Linked DNA regions of Homo sapiens: all the other regions are linked to region 3. The links are contacts of gene promoters, found by promoter capture Hi-C in human tissues and cell types (Jung and others, 2019). All regions are on one chromosome and are shown on one strand. The core of a region is centred on a gene start or on the middle of the fragment in contact, and the rest is flanking DNA. Distances in the headings are between cores, read along the strand shown.

What was found. Contacts are between HindIII fragments. The study calls those that stand out against the background at their distance.
Region 1: a fragment that was not itself captured here is called in contact with the fragment with the promoter of DOCK7 in region 3 in 11 of the 25 tissues and cell types used here (IMR-90 fibroblasts, aorta, bladder and 8 more).
Region 2: a contact is called between a fragment that was not itself captured here and the fragment with the promoter of DOCK7 in region 3, in 4 of the 25 tissues and cell types used here (bladder, hippocampus, psoas muscle and 1 more).

What each region holds. Positions count from the first base shown.
Region 1 is chr1:62,602,537-62,606,923 of GRCh38, reverse strand. All of the region lies in intron 14 of DOCK7 (dedicator of cytokinesis 7), which reads left to right. ANGPTL3 (angiopoietin like 3) reads right to left here. Exons shown (of 7, transcript NM_014495.4): 6 at 2,689-2,955; 7 at 611-2,291. The coding sequence ends at 2,107. Among named protein-coding and RNA genes, the nearest start is that of ANGPTL3, 7.2 kb to the right of the region's middle. The HindIII fragment of the contact is 5,855 bases long and covers 1-4,387 here.
Region 2 is chr1:62,574,531-62,578,885 of GRCh38, reverse strand. It overlaps DOCK7 (dedicator of cytokinesis 7), which reads left to right. Exons shown (of 50, transcript NM_001367561.1): 17 at 1-58; 18 at 1,523-1,624. Among named protein-coding and RNA genes, the nearest start is that of ANGPTL3, 21 kb to the left of the region's middle. The HindIII fragment of the contact is 4,591 bases long and covers 1-3,545 here.
Region 3 is chr1:62,686,167-62,691,038 of GRCh38, reverse strand. It overlaps DOCK7 (dedicator of cytokinesis 7), which reads left to right and starts at 2,653. Exons shown (of 50, transcript NM_001367561.1): 1 at 2,653-2,812. The coding sequence starts at 2,775. It overlaps DOCK7-DT (DOCK7 divergent transcript), which reads right to left and starts at 2,557. Exons shown (of 2, transcript NR_185999.1): 1 at 2,387-2,557. RefSeq lists an enhancer at 1,247-1,541 and a silencer at 2,551-3,300. The HindIII fragment of the contact is 7,491 bases long and covers 1-4,784 here.

The sequences.
Region 1 (4,387 bases), core at 1,674-4,173, 84 kb after region 3:
TTATTTTTGGTATGTTGAATTTGAGTGAAGTATAGGGTATTGAAGGGAGAAATGGCAAATAGGCAATGTAAGAAGGGGAACTGGAAAGAGACTTGGGATGAATATGTAGATTTTGGAACTTTATTCATGGTAAATAAAGGAGTCCGTGAGAGCAGATAGAATGTCTGAGGGTCAGTGTAGAAAAGATGATTGAAGGTTGTCCATTGGCCCACAGTACTAAATATGAGAAAGGAATAGGGTTATAAAGATGGATTCAGATAAGGGATAATCCATGGAGAGTATAGTATTGTGAAAGCAAAATGAAGGTCAAGTTTGAAAAAAAGATATTCTTATTATTAAGTAGTAGAGAGATAAAAGGGAAGGTAGTCTGAGAGATCAAAGGGGATTAGACTTAGATTAGACAACTGTGAGTAGTGATGGAATTTGAGCACTTTAAGCAAAGTAGTTAGGACAGGAGACAGTCGTGTGAACCATAAAGAGCTCCTTTCTCTTCTTCTACCAGAAGTATCTTTCTGGTAGAAAAAAGCTTTATATGGGGAAAACGTCTAATTTACTACTCCTGAAAGGAACAAAATGAAACATGTCCTATGAGAGTTTTTTTTTTTTTTAAGGAAACCAAATAGAGGAAGCAACTCATATATTAAATAATGAATTATTTTGCATTTGAAATTGTCCAATTTTGGGGGAAGAGAGGAGCCATTTTGGTATTCTGGCCCTAAAAAAATCAGCGTTAATTTCGACAGCTTAGTCTGTGGTCCTGAAAATTATAGATTATTTTTACCTTTATTATTTTGTACTTTTCTGGAACAAAATATTTACTTAGGATTCACATAGATCATACATATCTTTTATATATGTGACATATAAAAATATATATGACATGTATATTGGATAATTTGAAATACATAATGCTAAGTATTGACAAAGGTAGGTCACCATATAACTTGGGCACTATATCCTTTAACAAATGGGTTTAATTTAAAATTTCTTACTGGCAGTTTTAAAAAATCATATTTAAAAATAAATTCTGACAAGTGATACTGTGGTAAAAAATTTGTATCTAATCTTTAGGGATTTAGGGATTTAGGGATCTGTTGTGATGTCGATAAACATGCAAGAATAATTTAAATTTCTATAATTTAGGGACTGGGTCTTTGTTTATTGAATTTTAAACATATATACATGCTTGTCAGGCTGTTTAAACGTTCAGTAACTTGTTACGAGGTTTATTTCTACTTGAAAACCTACACGAATGTATTAGAATCACAGCATATTTAGGGGAAATATAAACTTTAACTCGATGCCACAAATATGTTCATTCTTACTGTAATCTGACAAGATTCCTTTACAATTATTTGTTTTCATAGTATTAAGTGTTAAAATATATAAAATGTATACAGTATATATTTTAACAAATAAGGTATAGTGATACCTCATGTTAAAGTCAATGTGACTTAGTAGTCATCTCCATTTGTTTAAAGACAGCGAACTTATTTTAATACAGTATTTAATTCTGCTTCATTAGGTTTCATAAATAAATCATATCAAACATTTACTCCAAATTATTTTGTAGCAAAATGAAGCATCAGTTTAAAAATTTGTATTACAGATTTTTACACATACTCTGTGCTGACGATTTTTAGTTTTGAAATTAATACTACAACATTTAAGAACTGTACAATTACCAGTCCTCTGTATTTAGTCAAGTTTAGAGTTTTAACAAGAGTACTAGTTTTTTAAACTGGGAAAGTTGTGATATTAGCTCATATGATGCCTTTTAAAATAAAAGTCTCTAAATTTTTTATTTAGAAAAGTTATTTAATAAGTTCACCTATTGATTATAATCTAGATTGTGACCATCTAAAATTGATTCCCACATCACAAAATTTAAAACAAATAGTATTATAAGAATTTTGATTGAGAAATGTAAACGGTATTCTTTAAGGTTATGTGATTGTATGTTTAATCTTAAATAGACAGTGACTTTAAGATAAAAAAAATCTATTTCTCAAGCTTTCTCTTAAGGATTTAATACCAGATTATTAGACCACATTAACTTGGAATGAGGTTAATGTTTAAATTATTGCCTTTTAAATTTGCCTCAGTTCATTCAAAGCTTTCTGAATCTGTTGGATGGATCAACATTTTGGTTGATTTTATAGAGTATAACCTTCCATTTTGAGACTTCCAAGATAATCCTCTTCTCCTCTCTGGCTTAGATTTTGCTCTTGGTTTGTTATATTTACCATTTAGGTTGTTTTCTCCACACTCATCATGCCACCACCAGCCTCCTAAAGGAGATAGATATGCAATTTAATGGGTACAGACTCGTATGTAGTTACTGTTACTGTATTTCCCCGTAAGTTTATCTTCCTTTCTTATAAATATTACAGTGTTTTAGATGCATGTATCCCAGTTTTAAATAATCTGTATAAGTCCCAATTTTAAATAATCTGTATAAATAATCTATACACTACCAAAAAATAGAAAATCTGAGGAAGATTAGAGGTAAAATACCTGATTGAACTAGAATGAACACTTTCATTATAGTTAAGAGGTTTTCGTCTAGAGAGAAAACGCTTATTTGGGATTCGGATTTTTAAAAGTTGTCATTGCAGATAATAGCTAATAATGTGGGAAGATACTTTGAAGATATGAAAATAAAGTATTGGTATCAGAAAAAGATACCTGAATAACCCTCTGGACAGTTGAAGTGTCCTTTTGCTTTGTGATCCCAAGTAGAAAACACCAAATCTTTGTTTTCCGGGATTGCATTGGGGACATTGCCAGTAATCGCAACTAGATGTAGCGTATAGTTGGTTTCGTGATTTCCCAAGTAAAAAGAATATTCAATATAATGTTTGTTGTCTTTCCAGTCTTCCAACTCAATTCGTAAAACATAATTAGATTGCTTCACTATGGAGTATATCTTCTCTAGGCCCAACCAAAATTCTCCTGAAAAGAAAAGTTTTAAAAATCTGTGAGTTATTAAGTACAGGTTGGACACTGACAGTTTTTTTAAGTGTTTTTTATTGGTGCAACTAATTGAGTTGTTTAGTCTTGAATCCCTTGATCATTTTAGTGTATCTTAAAATAATACCTTTTAAAACAATTTTATTGAAGATAGCTATGTGCACAAAAATGTTAAAAATATTAATATAACTGAAAGTCTGATTATCCTTTCTATAATGCATATGACAAGACATGTTTCACCAGTGAAATGTGTTACATTATTATAGATATTTTAAAGTCTCGTCATTGGTAGAGGAATATTTGCAAGTCTTTATATGGATAAACTTTACTGTCAGCTATTTATTAACATCCATATACAGTCAAGAGATGTGTTAAGTATTCCTAGAGACTTGAGTAATAATAATGTCACTTTCTTCAAATGTAAACCTGGCCTTTGGTATTTGCTTAATGTATGCTTTCTTTGTAGAAAAAGACAGGAATAAATTTAAAAAATCATTTTAAATTTAAAAGCATGGTTCTTAATAACTTTTTTCTGTAATTTTAAAAATTATTTTTATTGGAATTAAAAACAAATAACAAATATAAATAGATTGTTCTTCATCACAATCCTTTTTATTAAAGTATTTATAAAATACTGTTTTCATTAAACATTCACTATTGTCTTATTGCTATTGAGTTAGTAGGAAGCTTCATTTTAAGGATTGCTGGTAAATACAAGTACAAATGGGTTGCTTTCTTACCAGAATTAAGTGAGTATTCTCGACTTACCTGTCAGCCTTTTATTTTGGGGTTACACTCACTATTAGAAGATTTGGAGCTACAAAACTTATCACTGAGTATACCTTCTAGGTAGGGCTTTCACTGGTAGTTTGAATACAAAATTTTTAAATGGTCAAATAGTACTGAGCATTTAAAAATTTGATATAATAATGAATGTCTTCTACTTTATAAGTGAGTACTTAGACATCATTCATGGATTTTTGTATGTGCTTTTTGGATTTTAAACATCTGTTATTTTATCTTGCTTATTTTACTATTTGTAATCAAAATAGAATAATTTGCATTGAGTTAACTAATTCATTATAAGCCATACATTCTATATATTATATTTAAATAATTGAAATTTTAAAATGTATACTGTATGTCTGAGTTTCCTGGTCCTTTTAACTTCCAATTAATTGATATGTAAAACGTTAATGAGAGAATAGAGTGACTAATGCTAGGAGTGGTTCTTTTCACAGCTTATTTGTAACAGTTACTACTTATGACATAACATTTAATCAAAATTGTCTTTAATAATTATAGTTATGATCATTGTAAGCCGTGGAATTAAATTGTGATAAGTATATTTAAGAACAGACATGTAATTGTGATAAATATAATTCAAATAATAACAGTTGTAATAAGTGTAATT
Region 2 (4,355 bases), core at 1-2,500, 110 kb after region 3:
TCATGTTAGTTGTCAACAAAAACAAAATACTCCTCTTGAAACACCAGTTGGATATACAGTGAGTCCTTTTGGTTCAATATTTAGATCAAAGAGCTAAAATAATGGTGATATTTAAGATATAATTGATATTTCTGGTCATTTGTGGGTTTTTTTTTTTTTTTTTTTTTTGAGACAGAGTCTCTGTCTCCCAGGCTGGAGTGCAGTGGCGCGATCTTGGCTCACTGCAACCTCCGTTTCCTGGGTTCAAGCAGTTTTCCTGCCTCAGCCTCCTGAATAGCTGGGATTACAGGTGCCCGCCACCATGTCCAACTAATTTTTTTGTATTTTTAGTAGAGATGGGGTTTCACCATGTTTGCCAAGTTGGTCTCAAACTCTTGGCTTCAAGTGATCTGCCTGCCTCGGCCTCCCAAAGTGCTAGGATTACAGGCGTGAGCCATGGCGCCTGGCCTGTTTCTTGTTATTTAAATATTTCTTGTCTGATTCCCCACAGTTATGAAGTTGCATTGATTAGGAAGAGCCATTATAACAAGAAAATGCCCATTAATGTAATTAACTAATGTAATTAATTGATTTATTGACTAACACGTATAAACACTTGGGTGTTGGTCCTGATTATTAGGTGTATACCCAACAATGCAGTATAAATATAATAGGTTCATAGACTCTTCAGCAGATAATGATTTTATATAAAATGAGTAAAAGAGACTATTGGAGAATAAATTAAAACCCTTGAGTATTTTTCAAAATTATGCTTTCCAGCTTGGCATAACCCCATCTCTACCAAAAATACAAAAATTAGCTAGGCGTGGTGTCGTGCACCTGTGATCCCAGCTGCTAGGGAGGCTGAGATGGGAGGATTGCTTGAGCCCGGGAGGCAGAGGTTGCAGTGAGCCAAGATCATGCCATTGCACTCTGGCCTGGGCGATGGAGTGAGACTCTTGTCTCAAAAAAAAAGAAAAAAAAAATTACTATGGTTGAATTGCAAAGATAAACCTAAGATGAAGGAAGTCATGGTATAACACAGTTCTGTCAGAAAAATTATGCTTTCAGCCAGAAGAGAAAAGCCAACATTTGATTCATTATTTTTGTCTCTTGCAGTTTGTGACATGAGTTTTGCTCTAACTGTAAGAAAATAAATTTATGATCATACTTTTTGTTTCTATCATTCCTGTCTCAATCAATTATTTCTTTCACTATTTACATTGAAATGATTATCTCAGTTTTAAAATGGATTTACTTCATGGCTTTTTTCTAAGACCAACTTTTTGCCTCTAGATTTTAATATTGCATGGTTAGTAATAATAATGTTTTGGTGATATCCTCCTTAATAAAATTTCATTAGGGAAACTTCTCTTTAGAGGGATTATGAAGGCCTATTATTATTATTACTTGTATAATTAAATCCCTTAATGTTTGATGATATGGGACAAATTTGGCTTGTACCAAGTTCTTAAAACATGCTAAGTAATTATTTTTATAGCAAGCATATTTAAAATAAAATTGTTTTCTTTTCATTTAAAAGTGGATACCAATGCTTCAGAATGGACGGTTGAAGACTGGCCAGTTTTGCTTGCCAGTCTCATTGGAAAAACCACCACAGGCTTATTCTGTACTGTCTCCTGAGGTCAGTGTCTCCCATGTTGACTTTCTCCAGATTGAATGAAATGGGTTTTTTACTATAAAGATGTTTTTACCAAGCAAACTCTTGCCATTTCTTCTACTTAAAGTTTATAGATAATGAAGGAAAAGTATTTTCTCCCGTGGTTAAAATTCTTTTACATAAAACTTAAAAGCTTTTATCCTGTTTTTAAATTTAAATTTAAATTTCATTTTAAATGTAAATATCCTCATTTTAAAACCAAAATAATACATGGAATGTAAACTCAAAAGATCATTTTGGAGAATTTTCATACTGTAACTTGAGAAACTTCTTTAAATAAATGAATATTTCTTTTTTATTTTTAGTAGACTTAACATTTCACTAAAAGACTGGAGGAAGGAAAACAGATTTAAATTAATTTTTTAGAATCTTTTTGTAATTGAAGATCATGTGAATGAAAACAAAGTAGCTGTGAACCTGTAATACATGAGATATTGGCAACTTTGATGATTACATATGGGATTTGAAAGACTTGTAACACAAATATTGGAAAAATCTCAATCAAGAATCAATAGCCACCGTTCATAAACCAAAGTTCCTCTTGAGAGAAACACAATGGTTGTCAGTGTCTCTTAATGATTTTGAATATAACTGCTGGTAAATGTTACTCTAAAATACGTTTTGTGAATATTTTCCTGGTGCTATTTGTTTTCAGAATACAATTCAAAATGTATTCACAAATAAATTTTTATGTATTTTTATTTTTAAAAAACAATTCAAGGCTATTGCTCTGATCTTATTTCTCACTGTTCTCTGTCACTCACTTTTGATAGCCACATAGCACAGAGCCTCTGCTGTTCCTTACACACGAAAAGTGCATTTGCATTTCAGGCCCTTTGCTCTTCCCTCTGCTGGCAGTGCTCTATCACAAAGCCTGGTTCTTCATTTTACTCAGACCTCTACTCAAATATCACCTCACCAAGGAAGTCATCTATGATTATTCTAAATAGCAGCCTCTCCCACTTTATCTCTTTATTTTTCCTCATGTCATTTATCATTGACTTTGTATTTAAAATGTTTTTTGCTTATTTATTCTCTATAGAGTATAAACACTATGAGGGTAGGAACTTTGTCTGTCTTGCTCATTGCTGTCTACAAGTATTTAGAACAGTACTTGGCACATCATAGACACTCAATATATACTTATTAGATTAATGAATAAAGACAGTAGAGTAAGAAATATGACTCTCCCTCCTCCCAATCTTTCATTCATTTTTCCAGGGACACATCTTTTCAGTGATGACTTTTTCATGTGACTTTGTTATATAGAAAGGTGGCCATTTGTCAGAGAGCATTATGTTTCAAAGGAGATGTTTTAAAAGAAAATATATTTTTGTTGAAGTTAAGGATTTGTTTTTACTTAATTGCAGTGCAAGTTCAGCTTTCTAAAGGGAGACTCATGATTTTCTTCTAGCTACCATACTGTATATGCTCACAGATCAAGAATATGGTGATAATTTGGATTTGACTGTAGACATATAATATAGCTGCTTGATATGTGAAATAAGCCACCTGATTAAGAGCCAAAACTTTTGTAAACAGTTGACCCTTAAACAACATGGCAGTAAGGGGTGACATCCCTCCTCCCTAGCATGCACTTGAAAAATCCACGTATAACTTTTGACTCCCTAAAAACTTAACTGCTAATATAATAGCTTACTGTTGACTGAAAGCCTTACCAGTAACATAAACAGTTAATTAGCATGTATTTCGTATGTTAAATGTATTATATACCATATTCTTAAAGTGATATAGAGGAAAGAAAATGTTCTTAAGAAAATCATAAGGCACAGAAAATATATTTACTATCACTAAGTAGAAGTGGATCGTCATCAAGGCCTTCATCCTCATTGTCTTCATGATGGGTAGGCTGAGGAGGAGGAGGAAGAGTAGGGATTGGTCTTGCTATCTTAGAGGTAGCAGAGGCAGAAGAGGTGGAAGGGGAAGCAGGCACACTTGGTGTAACTTTACAGAAATACATCATAATTTCTGTCTGACATTTTTGCTTTTTCATTCCTCTAAAAATATTTCCAGAGCAGGATGCAGTGGCACACCTGTAATCCCAGCTTCTTGAGAGGATCACTCGAGTTCTGGAGTTCGAGGCTGCACTTTGCTGTGGTTGTGCCTTTGACTAGCCAGTGCCCTCCAGCCTGGGAAACATAGCAAGACCCCATCTCTTTTAAGAAAGTGTTTCTGGCCAGGTGTGGTGGCTCATGCCTGTAATCCCAGCACTTTGGGAGGCCGAGGTGGGCAGATCACCTGAGGTCAGCAGTTCAAGAACATCAGGGCTAACATGGCAAAACTCCTTCTCTACTAAAAATACAAAAAATTAGCCAGGTGTGGTGGCAGGCACCTGTAATTCCAGCTACTTGTGAGGCTGAGGCGTGAGAATCGCTTGAACCCGGGAGGCAGAGGTTGACAGTAAGCCGAGATTGTGCCACTGCACTCCAGCCTGGGCGGCAGAGTGAGACTCTGTCTCAATATAAAAAAAAGAAAAAAAATATTTCTATGTGGTGCCAATCTTTATTCGTTTGTTTTAGTTTTAGTGCCCTTAGCACAGATGGGTCCATGTTTTAAAAGAAGTCAAAAGCAGTCTTGAATAACCCTTCTGCCATGTTGTATAATGTCAGTTTGTTTTCTGACACTGTTTCTTCTATGTTTGCTGCCTCAATGTCTGGCACTGGTTTAAAAGCAC
Region 3 (4,872 bases), core at 1,404-3,903:
CGATTGTCTTGGTTTGATTCATGAGCCTATCCCTAAATCAGTTACAGAAGCCAGAGGAGTGTGCTGCTTTGCTTGGTGAGGCCCAGGTCAAAAGACCCTTGAAACTGAGGGTGGTGGAGTGAGCTCCCCAGAAGTATAGTGGATTGACACCTGTGTGTGTGTGTGTGTGTGTGTGTGTGTGTGTGTGTGTGTAGGGGGTGGTATAGGGAGCATGGATGCTAGTCAGCTGAAGCAATTCCACTGTCACTCCCATTGCTGCGTTCCATATCTTTTCCTGACATTGAAACCCTGTGGGGCAGGGATACCAGCCAACATGACTTGGTCTGTGACTGCCAGCTCTTCCCCAGAGGTAGGGGGTCACCCTTCCTGCTTAGAGTGTTCCCCAGACTCTGAATTACCCTGCTTACAGCGTGATCCTGCTTGTCCTCTTCCTGCTCTAAATGTTTCCAGTAAGCTGCAGAGTACATGCAAAGTCCTTTCAGACACTTTGGCAACTAGTGAGTCATGTATACAAAGAACTATTCAAAGCAAAATGTGGCCAGTTCTCTAAGAGAGTAGTGAAAAGATGTTTGGAGAACAGAGATAAAGGCATGCAACATCTGGCTGGGAGTATGAGAGCAGACAACCAATTCAGGGACTATCAAACACCCAGGACAAGCTTAAGTATAGGATGAATAATGACAGTAACAGTGATAATAATAACAACAGCTGACACACATCGTACTTACCATGAACCAGGCCCTGTTCTAAGAACTTTATATTAATCAATTCAATAAATCTTCACAACACCCTTTCAAGTAGATATAATTATTTTCCTCCTTTTAGAGATGAAGTTAAGTAGCTTGCCTAAGGTTACAGAGTAAGAAAGTGGCAAAATAAGTCTGGGTTCCTATCACAGAGGGTCTTAAAAGCCAGGTACAGTGATAGCCTTGACTTACAGTCTGTGAGTACCTGGTTCATCTTTCCCAATGGACTCAAACATTCTGAGAGCAGGTCTGTGTCTAGTTCACCTTCGTGTTTTTTAGAACACCTAGGTGGGCTCTATACTTAGGTAGAAGCCAAATATCTGTCCTCTTTGAATAGACTATCTTTTCCTTTAGTAAACAAGCATCTGAAAACAGTGTGTTACTGGAGGGCGCCTTGGCAAGAGCCTGTGGTACTAGCTACTCCTCCAGAGGCTGAGGCAAGAGGATTGCTTGAGCCTAGGAGTTTTAGGCTGCAGTGCCCTATGCATTCCATGCTTGAGCAACACAGGGGGATTCTGTCTAAAATAAATAAATCAATAAATAAAAGCAGTGTGTTACTGCAATGAGCATTGTTATATAAATACACAGTCTTCCACAGAAGTTACAGCACTAGACAGGAAGTTATGGATCTGACTAATTGAGGCTTTCACCTCTGACTCAGTGTGTGACTCTGGCAAGTGACCTAATGGCTCCAAGCTACAGATTTTCCAATGGTAAAAGAGAGGAAAACAGGTATCCAACATATTCCACCAGGACATACTGAGAATATAATAATAACAATAAATAAATACACATTTTAAGTTCTTGCAATACTTAAGAGGAAAGGTACTACAAGAAACCAAGATATTTTTCTTAGTGTCACCATAATTTCAGTATCAACAGATATGCATTAGGAGCCAAATATTCTAGACATTATGGGATTACAACAGAACAGATGAAAACAAATCTCTGCTAGTCTCTGTTTTATAGGCTATTATGGACAAGGTCAGTTTCAGTGGTCAACACAGAGCTTATTTAACAGAACATCAAAATGGGGGTGAACGTTAGAGCTCACCTGGATTTTATATATATATATATATATATATATATATATATATATATATATATATATATGTATGTATGAGAGACAGAGAGAGATCCAAAAGGGGTTAATAATACGGAAACAACTGTCCTCAAAGAAAAGAACCGGCTCTGGGTTTGAGTCTCAGTGGAAGAGTTTACCATCTGTGCGACCTGGGGCCAGTCACTTAGCTTTTCCAAGCCAATTTCCTTCCCTCTAAAATAGTGATAGTAACGATCTACTTCAAAGCGCTCGTGCTTGAAAAACTTTAATCCAGTGGCTGGCTAAGCACCAGAAGTCAACTATTACTATTGTTATCGCTGCAGGAGCAAGGTATTTTCTGGCTCTTTCTCTATAAGAAAAACCACTGTTTCTCCAGTTAGGCTGCATTCATGAGGCCGAAGCAGAAACCCAAGTGCTTTAAAAAGCTCGGAGACCGGTGCTGCAGAAACATGAACCCAGTCATCCAGGGCTTTGGTTAAAGCACAGCCCCCTCGGCAAAGCCCACCTTTCATTTCCTTCCCTTCCATTTCGGGAAAGCCAAGCTCCCCCTACGCGTTCGGTTATCTTATTTTCTTGCCTCGCCAGGTCGCTGGCCTGTCTCTGGCTTCTCTCCGCGACCTCTCGGTCGTGCAGGCTCCGCGGCAGCGAAGCGGCTGGGGCTGGCGCCTCGCTTCCTCAGCGCTCCATTCTTCCCCTCGGCTCCCGCCGGCCGCAGCCGCCTTCCGCAGCCGGGGTTCCCGCCGGGATTGACGCGCTGGGGGAGGAGCGGTTTCTCGTTGCGCGCCTCTAAGGAACATTACGGCAGGGCTCGTTCCTGGCTCCGGCCGCCAGCCCCAGCCTCCCAGGTCCGGAGCCCGGACTGGCGGAGGCCGCGAGGGAGGGAGCACGAGCGAGGAGGCACGCGCCCGCCGGTCCGCACCCGGCCCGCCGCAGCCGCCGCCGCCGTCGCCGTCGCCGCAGCAGCCATGGCCGAGCGCCGCGCCTTCGCCCAGAAGATCAGCAGGTAAATATCCGGCGTGGGGCGCGCCGCCGCCGCCGCCCGAGAAAGAGCCGCGGAGTCCTCCCAGGCCTGGCCTAGGAGGCGGGTGGGTGTGGCGGGGCCGGCACCGGGATCCCGCGGCCTGGCTCGCGGCGGGGCGGAAGGGGTTCGGGGTGGCTGAGGGGGTAGCGGAGGCCTCGCGCCGCCCTCGAACCCCGGCCTTCAGCCCGCGCCCGCCGCTGAGCCTCGGCAGGGAGCGGAGAGGGCCGCGGACTCCAGCGCGCCCGCCTCCTCCTGCTCCTCGGCGGCCCGGGCCTGGACTTCTGCGGAGGTTTATGGAAGGGCGGTCGGCCGCTTCCCAAATTCTTTGTGTTCCCACCCCCGGGCTCGTCGGGGGCCGCCGCGGCGTTTCGCCCCCTCCCGTCTCTCCGCCCACCCCTCTTGGCCCCTAGAGGGTGCGGGGTCCGCCCTCCTCCACCCCAACAAAAGGAGAAACGCGCGGCGGCTCGGGGCGGGTGGGAGGCCGCCCCTCCTTCACGCGTCTCTCTCTTCCTGAGAAATCTGACAGGAACCCTCTTTGCACCCTCGGGCCAGGTTCAAAGTGGACTTGTGCGTCCAGGATTGAAAACGTGTGGACAGAATGAAAAGTTGAGAGCTGCGGGCTGCACCTTCGGTGTGCAGCTGCCGAATCCCTGACGGATTGCAGGCTGAAGCTTGTTCTGAGTTCGCCTGTGAATTTAACTGTGCGCCTGTGTTTCTCAGAGCACCCGAGAAGATGGATGATAGGCAGTGTTCTTTATACACTGACATCCTTTTATATGTTAGCAGTCTTGAAGTAAAGCAAGTGATTGCAGTCTTGAAGTAAAGCAAGTGATTGAGGTGGAGGTTTCAAAGCCTTTCACCTACTTGTGGTGGTTGGTTGCCACCTTTCTCCCACCCGCCAAATAAAAATTAAATGACAGAGGACTCTAATATTTGTAGAATTTCTTTGTGGAGTATACTTATGTATGAGACAGTAGACATTTTTGTTTTAATAAAATCATATTTGTGTGAATTATGATGTCCCAAGAAAAGAAGCATTCATATTAAATTACCTTTTTTTGTTTTGGGGCAGTTGTAGTTCTGTGGCTCTGAGTCTTTTTAGTTTGCTGACATTTCTTTAAAAATTTTGGGCCGGATGCAGTGGCTCAGGCCTGTAATCCCAGCAGTTTGGGAGGCCGAGGCAGGAGGATCGCTTGAGGCCAGGAGTTCAAGACCAGCCTGGGCAACATAGCGAGTCCCCCCCACCCCATCTCTGCAAAAAAATTAGCCAGGTGTGGTGTTGCACCTGTCGTCCTAGCTGCTTTCGAGGCAGAGGCTTTTTTTTTTCTTTCTTTCCAGCGTTCTAGCACTTTTTTTTTCCTGAAGGGGCAAAATAGCAAGTGTTTAAGAGCATGGGCTCTACTCTCAGACCCCGACATGGGTTCAAATCCTGATTGGTATTTTCTAGCTTGGGACTTTGGCCAAGTTGTTGGGCCAAATTTCCGTTTCCTCGTCTGGCAAATGAGAATAATAATAGGACCCAGCTCATAGTGTTGTTGTGAACATTAAGTGGCATAATTTGTGTAATGTGCGTAGGATAGTACAGGGCCTATACTACCTGTCATCAAACACTTGTAGTAATTAGTTTCTCCCAGGGAGTTATGATGACAGGAAATTTTTTTTTTTTGTAAAATAATTAGGTCTTACTTCTGATGATGATGTCATTAAAAAATGTTATTACTGGCCGGGCGCGGTGGCTCACGCCTGTAATCCCAGCACTTTGGGAGGCCGAGGCGGGTGGATCATGAGGTCAGGAGATCGAGACCATCCTGGCTAACAAGGTGAAACCCCGTCTCTACTAAAAAAAAAAAATACAAAAAATTAGCCGGGCGCGGTGGCGGGCGCCTGTAGTCCCAGCTACTCGGGAGGCTGAGGCAGGAGAATGGCGTGAACCCGGGAAGCGGAGCTTGCAGTGAGCCGAGATTGCGCCACTGCAGTCCGCAGTCCGGCCTGGGCGACAGAGCGAGACTCCGTCTCAAAAAAAAAAAAAAAAAAAAAAAAAA